Linked DNA regions of Homo sapiens: regions 1, 2 and 3 are each linked to region 4. The links are contacts of gene promoters, found by promoter capture Hi-C in blood cells and fetal thymus (Javierre and others, 2016). All regions are on one chromosome and are shown on one strand. The core of a region is centred on a gene start or on the middle of the fragment in contact, and the rest is flanking DNA. Distances in the headings are between cores, read along the strand shown.

Region 1 (2,875 bases), core at 76-2,575, 310 kb after region 4:
GTGAGCACTATGCTGCAGGCCAGAATTTAAATAAACAAATGAATAAAATGTCCTCTTCACTAACACATTTACAGGGAGTTCAGCCACTTACACACAGAGAGAGGCGGAAACTTGATCCTGAGGGCTCCACAAAATCAAGCTCACCTGGCAGCACAAATTATTGGGTTGATGGTCTCCAGTGGGTGAAAAGTTGGCATATAAAACATTTGGGCCGGGCGCGGTGGCTCACGCCTGTAATCCCAACACTTTGGGAGGCCGAGGTGGGCGGATCACCTGAGGCCGGGAGTTTGAGACCAGCCTGACCAACATGGAGAAACCCTGTCTCTACTAAAAATACAAAAAATTAGCCTGGCATGGTGGTACATGCCTGTAATCCCAGCTACTCGGGAGGCTGAGGCAGGAGAATCGCTTGAACCTGGGAGGTGGAGGTTGCGGTGAGCCGAGATCACGCCATTGCAGTCCAACCTGGGCAACAAGAGCGAAACTCTGTCTCAAAAACAAAAACATTTGAAGGTGGTGTGTCTTATTTTAATAAGGGCTCTTGAAAGAGCTACAAGTATTTGTACATCAGGTATTTGGGAGACCCCTTGGAATGCCTTTGGAAGAACCTTAGGGTTCCACAGAGGCTTGAAAACCACTGTCGTAGTGCAAACTCCTTCCTTTAGATGAGTCTTCAGCAGATATCTCTATCCAAAGATGTTTCTGTTCTGTTTTTCAAGATGGGCCTTAGTAGCTCTGTTGGGATATTTCGTTGTGATGCATTTGAGAAACTCTCTGGAATTTTCAGGAATTATGGTTCCTACCATAAGAATATAAGAATTTCCAAATATGTTCCTTCTCTTACGTGAATACATCCCTTCCAAGCTGGTCTCCCATCACAGTTCCCCGTGGCCCTGCCCCTCCTTGGCCGATGCCGTCTCTGAAGCCCAGGTGTGCGTGCTGCTGCTGCTTTCTCTCCTGCTTCTGCGTCCCGTTCCTCTTCTTAGTCTTGTGGCACCTGGCTGAGCCCTGAAGAAGGCAGTGGCAGCTGGGCATGATAATAATCTGGAGTCTTCTCATCATGGCAGTCTGCCCTTCCCTGGGGACTGTAGTAAACTGGCTGGAACCTGCCATCATCTCACTTGGGGGTCTCCAGCTTCCATCACCGTCTGAGGGCGTCAGACTTTGTTAGCCAAGCTGCCTTTCCAGAGAAGCGCTCTAGCATGGACCTGCCATCCCGTTCTCCGTTTGTCTAAGGTATGACGACGTATGGCCAGGCTGCAAGGATTAGCTTCAGCACCTTTGATCCTAGGGCCAGGCCACAACTTAGGTAATTTCCAGTCCTGGGGCACCTGGGAAGCCTTTTTGTTACAAAAACACTGACTCAGCCTTGAGCATGCATTGAAAAACTGGGGCAGGACCGCATTCTACCACTGTGTCTGCTGTGTCACTCTCAAGGGGAGGCCCTCAGGTGGGACCGGAGGCTGTGAGGATCTGCATTCAGAATGCGGGGTTTGGAGAGAGGGCAACACCATGGCGGCCGAGTGCTGTGCTCTGTGTGTCTTTATGATTCTGGGGAGATGAGGACCGCCTGCTCAAGCCCAGCCTCTCGGCAGTGCCCAGTCTGCATCTCAGGCGTGGAAATTACATAGCGCTCTTGGCCAGACAGCTGTGGAACTACCAGGCTAGGAGTGCCCCAGGCCAGCACACCTCCAGGAGCCTTCGGCCGAGTGCCTGGGGGAAGAACTCTGCATGAGTCTCTGCTCGTTTCCTGTTGTTAAGAAGGCCGACTGAATTTGGAGGCCTAAGCCTCGAAACAGGATCCCCTTTCTCTCAAACCCATTCGGCAAAAGTGGGTCTGCAAGGCATTTGATAGAGTCAGCAGTGGGGTCGTGGGAATTCCTGGGAGAGCACTGACTGCACGAAACCTAAGGATTTCAGAGCTTCTGTAGGACGTTTGCCTCCTGCCTCCAGGCCCTCAGCCTGGGGCTTCCAGTATCAGCAACTGACACGCAGGCAGCCCCGCTCTATTAACTCTTAGTTAGAGAAGGTTCAGTCCCAGGGGCAGGAGTTCCCAGCAAAGCCAAAGCCTCTGTCCTGGCTGATCCCTGGTGTACGTGGGATCATGTTGATAGTGACCATTGACTCCCCACAGTGAGTTTTAGTTACCGCCCTCCTCCCGCAGCCACGCAGTATGCAGATACGGCATGTGTGGACATGCAGTATGTGATGCACTTAGGCACGCATGCCTTCCAGCCGTTCCTCTGCCGCCTCGCTGTGTCTGTGTTTCTTGCGCTCCATATCATTGATTGCTCCATATCATATCATTGATTGGGTATGGGGGGACAGGAGGACTACCTGATGGAATAACTCTCTCTTCACCGATTCCTTGTTGTAGACTATTGGGGAGAGTCTTATTACAGTGACCTCATCGACTTGCATCTGGGTGGTATGTATGGCAGCGCCTGTGCTGACACTAACCCCGCTGACGCCCTTTCTCCACCCACGCTTCCCAGTCCCTGCTCACAAAAACAAGGAGAAATCAACCCAATAACCAAATGGCAAAAGCACAGACCCTTTTCCAGCTCAAAACAGAGCAGCGTGCTGATCTCCCCGCTGCCCACATGTGCTCCAGAGGAAGATCTGAGCTTGCTTTTGCTGCCTGGGGTCGTTTTTAATTTTTTATAATAAAACTTTGCCCACCCGACTCCACCAGCCTTGCATCTGCGTCCTGGTCCCCTAAATACACACACTCCAACACAGCTTTTGCCCTGAATCTCATCCCTCACTGCTTGTAGGAATCATATCTGCTAGGGAGCTCACTGCCTGCCACACTTACGCAAAGAAGCAAACATGCCAAGATCTCAGCCCGACCATTTTCACTGGGTCGTGGTCT
Region 2 (3,175 bases), core at 613-3,112, 270 kb after region 4:
ATGGCGTGAACCTGGGAGGCGGAGGTTGCAGTGAGCAGAGATCGTGCCACTGCACTCCAGCCTGGGCGACAGAGCGAGACTCCGTCTCAAAAAAAAAAAATGTCTGGTAACACCAGGCTGCTACCACATGGCACTGTGCCTCAGCCCTGTTTCTCAGTAACGACTGTTCGCTCTCCAGAGCCTGTGGATGCAGCTTTCCAGGAGTATGCACACAGTGGTGGGGAAATATTACTGGACACCAGACTTGCTGCTTCACTCATGTTTCCTGGGCACTCCCCAGGTGGCAGGCGTTAAGTGGAAGAGGAAGGTGACCGTGTGTGTGGGGTGCAGGGTCAACACGCACCCCCACATGAGTATGTGTGCATCGTGTCACTCGGTGTCCATGACGGCTCTGGGAGGTGGGTGGTGCCATCATTTATCTATCAGGAAACGAGCTCTGAGGAGTTCTGTAAATTTTCTAAGACCCTTCAGCCAACTACTGGTGGAGCCAGGCATCTGGAAGATGAGGAAATCTGACCTGGGGTTGCCCGCCTCCACCTGGACCCGGTGCTACTCACATTACAGGGGACACACCAGAGGACTCATGACAGCCTCCTCTGACCAGGATCAGGAGGACAAGGGACGTCAACAGAGAATAGTGGTGATGATAAGGGAGGCAGCAGAACTGTTCCATGTTAAAGGAGACCAAAGCACAGTTGTAAAACACATTTTCAAAAATCCGAGTCCATAGCAGTACTTGAAAGTATAAAGTTAAAAATGGGAAAAGTGCTTCTTTACCAAAGAATGGTAGTGGAGGAGGAGTGATGGGATTTTTTTTTTTTTTTTTTTTTTTGAGATGAAGTCTCGCTTTGTCACCCAGGCTGGAGTGCAGTGGCGCAATCTCGGTTCACTGCAAGCTCCGCCTCCCAGGTTCACACCATTCTCCTGCTTCAGCCTCCCGAGTAGCTGGGACTACAGGCGCCCGCCACCGTGCCTGGTTAATTTTTTGTATTTTTAGTAGAGATGGGGTCTCACTGTGTTAGCCAGGATGGCCTTGATCTGCTGACCTCGTGATCCACCTGCATCGGCCTCCCCAAGTGCTGGGATTACAGGCGTGAGCCACCGCACCCAGCCAGAGTGATGGGATTTTAAAATCACCTGGTGTGACGCCCTGTGCACACAAAGGACTCCGGCCAAGATCGCCGACGATGCTGAAACCACAGGGTGAAAGGACGCAGGCAGGGCACCCCGTGGCTTCAGAAGCCCACGGAGGACTGATGGGGAAGTGTGCCTGTGCATCGCAGAGAGGCCTGGGTGCCACCTCTGTGAGCGGTCGGGCCTGGTGTCCTTCCTCTGAGCAGCGGTGCTGCGGTAGGGGCAGCATCGCCCACGTGGCCTTATGAAACCGAAAGTGCCTTATCTAACTGTGAGGAGACAGATCCGCAGCATGAGACGTTCTTCAGGCAGCTGGCCAGGCCCCCTCAGTGGTGGGGCACGTGCCTGGTGGGGACTTGGATCCCGGGGCAGGCATTGGGGGAGGCACCTGGTGGGGGCCTGGATCCCTGGGGCAGACTGCACCGGGGATGCCCTTCTCAGGCAAGGCTGCTTCAGGGGCACCTGGCTCCTGGCTGCCTGCGGTCTGGCCCACACCCCTCACCACCAGTCACTCTTGTGGGGAGACTGCGTCTCCCCTCTGGGGGCCGGGTTCAGGGTGATGAAGGAGAGAGAACGCTCTGACCTGGAGGGCAGACAGGGCCACCTTCCTTTCTCCTGCAGAGTGAAATTCCCTCTCACATGCCAGGGTCCTTCTCTGGCCTCTGGCAACTCTGCAAATGCTCTGACCTTTGTCCTGCCCCACATTCTGGCAGGAGGGCCTGCAGCCTGGGTGTCAGCCCCCACCCCCACGCCCCGTCTGTGGTTGGACCTCAGTGCAGTGCTTCTGTGCTTGTCCCGCAGGTTCAGGCGTGAACGGCCTGGAGGAGCCCAGCATCGCCAAGCGACTGAGGGGCACCCCAGAGCGGATCGAGCTGGAGAACTACCGCCTGTCCCTGAGGCAGGCTGAGGCACTGCAGGAGGTACCGGAGGAGACTCAGGCCGAGCACAACCTGAGCAGCGTGCTGGACACGGGCGCCGAGGAGGACGTCGCCAGCAGGTCAGCACGCAGGGCTGCAGGGCGCCCACCCGCCACACGGCCCTAAGAGCCTCCTCACCTCTGTGTGTCTCGGTTTCTTCTCAGTGAAGGGAGGCCTCCTGTCTTTCCTGCTGCCCGCAGTCCATTCTCCCCAGTCCCTTTTAGGTTCTTAGCCTCATCTTCTAGTCAGTGAGGACTCCTCCATCAGACTCAATTCAGAGATTCAGGAAGTATTTATTCCTTGAGGACCTGACATGTCCCCAGCTCCAAGTCTGTCATTGGGAAGGAAAGTGGCAGGCTCTGCCCCCGGGTTATTCACAGATTCAGCAGAGGGAAGGACGGGCACACGGGGAGGGACTCTGGGTGATTCAGCCACCAGTGCACCGGGCCGTCTTGAGGGAGGCCTAGTCCGTCCCCCAGGCATCTTTTTTTCTCCTGTAGGTAAAGAAAGGGACTGAAAATGTGTGCCCCAGGGGCCGCATGCAGCACCAGTGGATGCATGCTTAGGCAGTTCCAGAGCTGTAATCACATCCAGCTGGGTGACACCTTTGGGGATGTGCATGCTATAACCCTAGGACTCCCTATATCCACTGCCCTGCACCCCAGGGCTTCCAGTATCAGCGAAGGCTTCAAAGTGTTCAGCCGATTACAGATGATCAAGAGAGCCAAGAATCAAAAGGGGGTCCGGTGTCCTGTGGGGCTTCAGGACAGAAACACAGGCTGCAAACCCGAGGGGCAGAGGCCTCAAGTGGCCTTGGAGAGCATTTGAATCACACACCTTGATTTAGCCATGATGAAGGGAACATGTGGGGATAAGGAGAGCAGAGCAGTTTTTTTAAGGTCCAAGAACGCTTTCCAGAAGGTGTTTGCTGGGCCGAGCTGCTTTCAGCTGCACCCGCCACCTCAGCCCTCATGTCAGACACCCTCTGCCTAGATTCATTCTTGGGCTGCCTCACAGACCGCTCCTCCGTGCATGCCGGGGGCAGCCTCTGCCTTGGTGTCTGCAGTTCCAAAGCTGTCACTGATGGTGCATCCTCATCCAGAACTCTGCTTCCCTATCCAGAG
Region 3 (2,741 bases), core at 202-2,701, 370 kb after region 4:
GGGCCTCAGCCGAGGCCCTGAGCTCCGGCACTGCCCAGAACCCAGCTCAGCGCTGGTACTCAGCCCGCCCGCTGTGGCCCTGGTGGAGTGGAGCACGTGCCCAGTGGGGGCTGGCCTTGTCCCATCGCGGACCTGTCCTTTCCCGGGGCAGGGTGGTGTGGGAGAGGGTATCAGGGACATTTTCTGAGTCTGCTCTGTCTCTGCCGCCCCTGCCTGAACACAGATTCTGAAAGTCAAGAAGACATCATCCGGAATATTGCCAGGCACCTCGCCCAGGTCGGGGACAGCATGGACCGTAGCATCCCTCCGGGCCTGGTGAACGGCCTGGCCCTGCAGCTCAGGAACACCAGCCGGTCGGAGGAGGTGAGTGAGGGCCTGAGGACCGCGTGGGCGGGCAAGTGAGCCAAGGGGGCCTGTCCCCTGCCTCTCACCAGGCAGCCCACTGTCCCGTGAGGCCACTCAACTCGTGACTGTCAGGTCCAGAACTCTGACGAAGTAACTGGACGTAGGGTATGGTTCATTGCCTTGCAGAAGATTTCAGCTGGTTGACATCGAGGAAACCTGAACCTTAAATCAGAGTAAAGAGTTTAGGGGTAAAAGCCTCTAAAAGATGAACGAAGCATGTTTGGCCAACAGAAGAAACAGACGCTTCCTTTGGTTGTAGGGAGTTTAATAATGGTGCCAGTGAGAACCGTAAGCCCTGGGAGTGGTGCCTGCTGCTCTGCTGAGCTCCTTGGTTGGAATCCACACAACTTTCTGAGCTCTACCATCTGCTTGGCACTGTTGGGGATACAAGATTGGTCCGGGGCACTGTGTCCCCAGAACACTTAGCGGAAAGAACTACATCCTCCCAACTGCCAAATGCAGGCCTGTAGCGGTAGGAGCTGAGAGGAGAGAAAGTTCCACTTTTTCGACTCTACCAGCTGAAAATGCAGGCGTCCTCACCTCCTAGAAATCCAATCATGCTTCTGTTCAGTGGGGCCAGCCTGTGATGTCCCAGCAGCTGCCTAGAACGCAGGAGTGGCTGGCGCACTCCCATGTAACTCTGCATGTGCGCCGACCGCCTGACGGTCCTTGCCAGCCTTGTAGTCTGTCTAGTGTCCCCCAGGAACCCCCTTCCTCCTGTCCATTCAGCTAGGTCTGCACCAATAAAATGGGCCTAAGGCGTCGCAGGTGGTCACTAGTTCTGGACTCGAAGTGCCTTGGGCGCAGGGATGACCCAGGCTTCTTGTATCCCATCACCGTCTAACAGTGGGCACATGGGCTCACCACACATGCGTTTGCTTACCGAGCCCCCTGCAGGGAGTGATTGCAGTCTTCCCTTTCCATTGCCTCTCAGAACTCAACTGTTTCTCATTCTTTCCGCCCAGCAGCCCTGGATACTTAATAAGTACTTTGAAGTGCTTCTTCATACTGGGGACTGTCTTTCCTTTGAGAGGGAAGAGTATTAGTAAACCAGGTTCTGTGTGCCCCTCTGTGCAGGACCGGAACAGGGACCTGGCCACTGCCCTGGAGCAGCTGCTGCAGGCCTACCCTAGAGACATGGAGAAGGAGAAGACCATGCTGGTGCTGGCCCTGCTGCTGGCCAAGAAGGTGGCCAGTCACACGCCGTCCTTGCTCCGTGATGTCTTTCACACAACAGTGAATTTTATTAACCAGAACCTACGCACCTACGTGAGGAGCTTAGCCAGAAATGTAAGAACCCTTGAGGTCAGCTCCTTCCCTGCCTGCCGCCCATGCCCTTTTCTCTGGAAGGTTGAGAAGCCCAGCGGGGCCCCTGCCTCTGATGCCAGCACAAGGGTTACAGGCTGTCCTGCTCGGGTTTGGTTTTGCTGTTGTGAGCTAGAAAGCTGTGTGTAAAGGTGACGAAGAGCACCCAGAGTCCTTTGGAGCTTTAGCAGCTTACTATTGGAGACATGCTCCATTCAGAGGGGTGGCAAAGGCTCACGTCACACTCCTGGTGGGGTCCTCAAGGCACAAGCAGGTACAGAGTGGAAGGAAGGGGCTGGAGGGCTCACAATGAGCTTTTCAGACCTCTCACCTTGCCATAAAAAATAAGTGTAATGTGGCCAGTGCGGTGGCTCATGCCTGTGATCCCACTGCTCTGGGAGGCCAAGGCAGGTGGATCACCTGAGGTCAGGAGTTCCAGACCACCCTGGCCAACAGGGTGAAAGCCCGTCTCTACTAAAATACAAAAATTAGCCGGGCATGGTGGCGCACACCTGTAGTCCCAGCTACTCAGGAGGCTGAGGCAGGAGAACTGCTTGAACCCTGGAGGCAGAGGTTGCAGTGAACTGAGATCGCACCACTGCACTTTAGCCTGGGCGACAGAGCAAGACTCCATCTCAAAAAAAAGGTGTAATGTGAACCAAAACGAGTAGTCAAAAAAGGGGGGGAACTGTCTGAAATCTTTTCCAGAGCACATCTGTCCCATAACCAGGTATTACAAGTCACAGTCTAAAGGCTGGGCATGGTGGCTCAAGCCTGTAATCCCAGCGATTTGGGAAGCAGAAGCAGTGGGATTGCTTGAGGCCAGGAGTTTGAGACAAAACTGAGCAACATGGCGAGACCCTGTCTCTAAAAAATTTATAAAAATAATTAGCTGAGGGCCAGGCGCGGTGGCTCACGCCTGTAATCCCAGCACTTTGGGAGGCCAAGGCAGGCGGATCATGAAGTCAGGAGTTCAAGACCAGCCTGGCCAAGATGGTGAAACCCCGTTTCTACTAAAAATACAAAAAAAA
Region 4 (3,171 bases), core at 501-3,000:
GTTAAGATCCTCGACACGCCCCTGTAAACATCCTCTGGGCTCCACTCTGTACCACAATGGCATTCAGATCCAAATTAAAGCATGCAAGGGAAGCACTTGGAAAATCCTAAAACACTAGCTACCTGCTAGATATTATAAATATTAAATATCAATTCTAGAGTATGCAGCCTAGCATTTGCTTCAAAATTATGGAGGGAGGGAATAAATGAAGTGAGACAGGTCAGAAGTTGGTAATTATTGAACTTAGATGATGTATATAATCGCTAATTATACCATTTGCTCTCCGTTTGCATATGTTTGAAATTCCCTACCATAAAAAGTTTAAAAATAATGAAATCTAAGTGGAGTCTTGGAAATTTGAATTATAACCCTCTTCATTTCGCAGGTAAAACAAACACATCCAGAGAGGTTAAGTGACCTTCCTGAAGTCACACAGCTAGCTGCAGAGCCAGGAGTCAAAATTCTGAACTGGCAGCTCCGGGCCCTTTGTGTGGCCTCATACCAGGGTCCTCAGGCAGAAATAGGTTCCTGTGGCCACCCTCCCTAATATTCCCAAGTTCTTTCAGTTCCCAGGGGTGTCTGGGAGCCCGCTAGGAGGAGGGAGGGTGCTGACAAAACTGAAGCTGGAAGGCTAGAGCTCCGGGGGAGCCAGGAGGCCCTGGGCACGGGCCAAACGTAACAGGGCGGGGCGGAGGGGGTTCTCGCCTGCTTTCTGGATCACTGACACCTGGAGCAAGCCTGCCCAGGGAACCCGACCTTGGCCATGACATAGGCTTATTCTGCCCTCACTCTGCCCCCAATCTTTCCAGCCCATCTCCCTACTGCTGAAAGATCAGGGGTCCAGGAGGGATTCCTGGGATTCTGGGCTTTGGGAAAGTGGACTGGGGGCAAATGTTAACCACCAGGGGCACTGGGGGCGGAGAGGGGGACCCTAGAAAGAGGAACTGAGTGTTTGCAGCCGCCCCTCAGTAAGATCCAGGGGCGGGGGCAGGGAAGGGAGCAGCCGCGATCCCCCTAAGCCAGGGTAGGAAACAGGTCGAAGGTCCCCTGGCCTTTGGAAGCAGAGACTTCTTACTCCCAAAGTCCTTCGACTCTGACCGCTGGAAAGACTTGGGAGCTGCTGAGTGCGCCCGGAGGACCCCGCCGCGCTGGGGCTGTGCGTGCAGCAAACCCAAGCCGCTGGCCAGGCTTGCGAGAAAGACCTCCACGCGTGGGGGGACCGTGGCGCCCTAGGTCCTCTGTCACATTCCGGGCCCTGTCACATTAGGCTGGGTTCGGAGACGTGACTGCATCTGGCCCCCCAGTCGCCCCGGCCCAGACCACCCATCCAGAATCCCCGGACTCGCCCTTCTCTCCACTCTGTCCACAGGCTGCCCATCTGGGGACCCCAGAATCTCGCCCCCTTCTCCGTCGGGCTCCCCAGGGCCTCCCTCCCCCTCGTCTGCACGCAAAGCTCCCTTAGGTCCCTTTAAGGAACAACTGGCCCCTGGTCTCTATTTCCCCCATACGATAAAGGGCACCGGGTGTTCCCGCCCGAGGGTGCGGACTCCTCGACCCTGAACTGCCACCCCCAGAAGGCCTTGAGCCCTGCGGCTCCAGGAAGACGGGTCCGTGCGCCTCCGCGTAGACTCGGCTCTCGGTCCTACGCCTGCCGCGCGCCCGCAGCCCGCCTGGCCCCGGGAAGCCTCACCATCGCTGCCGCTGTCCTCGCCCGCGCACCTCTCAGCTGGGCCTGCCCGCCCCGACTGCTCCAGATACAGCCGCCTCCGCCGTTGTGACACACCGGGAGGGGGGGACGCCGGGGACAGGCGCGCCGGGCCCGCAGCTGCCCCCCGGCATCACAGTGCCGGGGAGGGGCGGGCAGGTCACAAAGGCCCCTCCCCGCCCACCCGCGGCTCAAATCTCCGGGTCCTCGGTCCCGCCTCAGCAGCCGGGGGCGCTCGCAGCGGGGACTGCGCCCGCGGGGGAGGCTGCCCTATTACCAAAGCGCACGTGTCCACGTTCCAACACCGCCGGCGAGAGCAGCCTTCGTGACCCCAGCTGCCGGAGAAAGAAATGTAAAATGCAGCCAGGCGAATCGCGCGGGTCTCCCCAAACTTCCGTTCTCCTCCGACCCGCTGGAAAGGCTCCTGACTGGGGTGCAGCTGACCGGAGCGGGCTGCAGCGGGCCCGGGTGCCAAGGTGCCGTCTCAGCTGGGCGCCCTAGGGCCGTGTGTGCTTGGCAAGCTGCAGGGCCTCTGCTCCCAAAGCCTGTGCCTCCTGCCGCCAAGGCCCGCCTGGTTGCTGGAGACGGAAATGAGATGGCATACACAGAGCTCCTGGTACAGGCAGGTGCTGAAGACTGTTCCCGTTTTTACCCTCTCCCCGGATACCTCGCACCTCCACCGGGATTTTCAAATCTCCCCCCTTGATCCCTTCCTACTTTTAAGCCCCAAACGTGTCCAAGTCACATCTCCTATGTAATCCAGAACTCATACCAGGGTTCCCCTGCCTCTGCCCAGTAGTAAGACCCGCCAGATGCTGTTGGTTGCCCCCTGCTCGGGAAGGGGTGGGCACTTGGTAAAAGCCCCTCTTCACACTTTAGATGTTGGCCACGTTGTCACCCTGCCCATCTCCCCTCACTTCCCCCCAGGTGGGTGAGGGGCTGGATGGTCTTTGTTCCTTGTTCTCACTGCTGTTTCTTGTTCTTTCCCTCCAGTGGTCAGTTCCATTCATGTTGAAAGGTGTACCCCAGCCTCTCTCTTCCACTTTCCTCAGCACCAAGCCAACGCAGGCAAATTCATAGGTTTTCCTTAAGACAATACCACTTTAGCCAGACGTGGTAACTCCCCAAGTTTCCAAGCACAGTTAGAGATCTTCCTACCCTTCTGCTCCTAAGACATGCCTGCTTGTGGCCAATAGAGAATGAGAGCAGATTTCTGCTTACCTATGCGGCAATCTGTTCTGTTGGCCACCCATTCATAAACGATAGTACATGTGTCGTAATCATCTTTGCATTTGAGAGAGTACCAAACACAGTGCTTTACCCACTGATACAAACGGTACTTAGTAAAGCATGCGTTGAATTTTTGTCTATCTTATAATGTAAGATCCTGACAATTAAGACTCAGGATTAAGCTAATTGTGCCAAGCACATGATAAATGGTCAATAAAGGATTTTGGTTATTAGTA

The links. Contacts are between HindIII fragments. The CHiCAGO score rates a contact against its expected background, and 5 or more counts as called.
Region 1: a fragment that was not itself captured here is called in contact with the fragment with the promoter of TUBA8 in region 4 in 1 of 17 cell types (naive CD8 T cells); the score reaches 5.3 in naive CD8 T cells.
Region 2: a contact is called between a fragment that was not itself captured here and the fragment with the promoter of TUBA8 in region 4, in 2 of 17 cell types (naive B cells and total B cells). The highest score is 7.2, in naive B cells.
Region 3: a fragment that was not itself captured here is called in contact with the fragment with the promoter of TUBA8 in region 4 in 1 of 17 cell types (erythroblasts); the score reaches 5.1 in erythroblasts.

Annotation. Positions count from the first base shown.
Region 1 is chr22:17,803,364-17,806,238 of GRCh38, reverse strand. All of the region lies in intron 29 of MICAL3 (microtubule associated monooxygenase, calponin and LIM domain containing 3), which reads left to right. Among named protein-coding and RNA genes, the nearest start is that of LINC00528, 28 kb to the right of the region's middle. RefSeq lists enhancers at 588-1,426, 1,427-2,267, 1,262-2,461. The HindIII fragment of the contact is 3,985 bases long and covers 1-2,875 here.
Region 2 is chr22:17,840,778-17,843,952 of GRCh38, reverse strand. MICAL3 (microtubule associated monooxygenase, calponin and LIM domain containing 3) reads left to right here. Exons shown (of 32, transcript NM_015241.3): 20 at 1,936-2,131. Among named protein-coding and RNA genes, the nearest start is that of LINC00528, 65 kb to the right of the region's middle. The HindIII fragment of the contact is 7,527 bases long and covers 1-3,175 here.
Region 3 is chr22:17,736,971-17,739,711 of GRCh38, reverse strand. It overlaps BID (BH3 interacting domain death agonist), which reads left to right. Exons shown (of 6, transcript NM_001196.4): 4 at 224-363; 5 at 1,483-1,695. Among named protein-coding and RNA genes, the nearest start is that of MIR3198-1, 26 kb to the left of the region's middle. The HindIII fragment of the contact is 7,459 bases long and covers 1-2,741 here.
Region 4 is chr22:18,109,388-18,112,558 of GRCh38, reverse strand. TUBA8 (tubulin alpha 8) reads right to left here and starts at 1,750. Exons shown (of 5, transcript NM_018943.3): 1 at 1,691-1,750. The coding sequence starts at 1,693. RefSeq lists a silencer at 1,584-1,973 and an enhancer at 2,054-2,253. The HindIII fragment of the contact is 5,564 bases long and covers 1-3,171 here.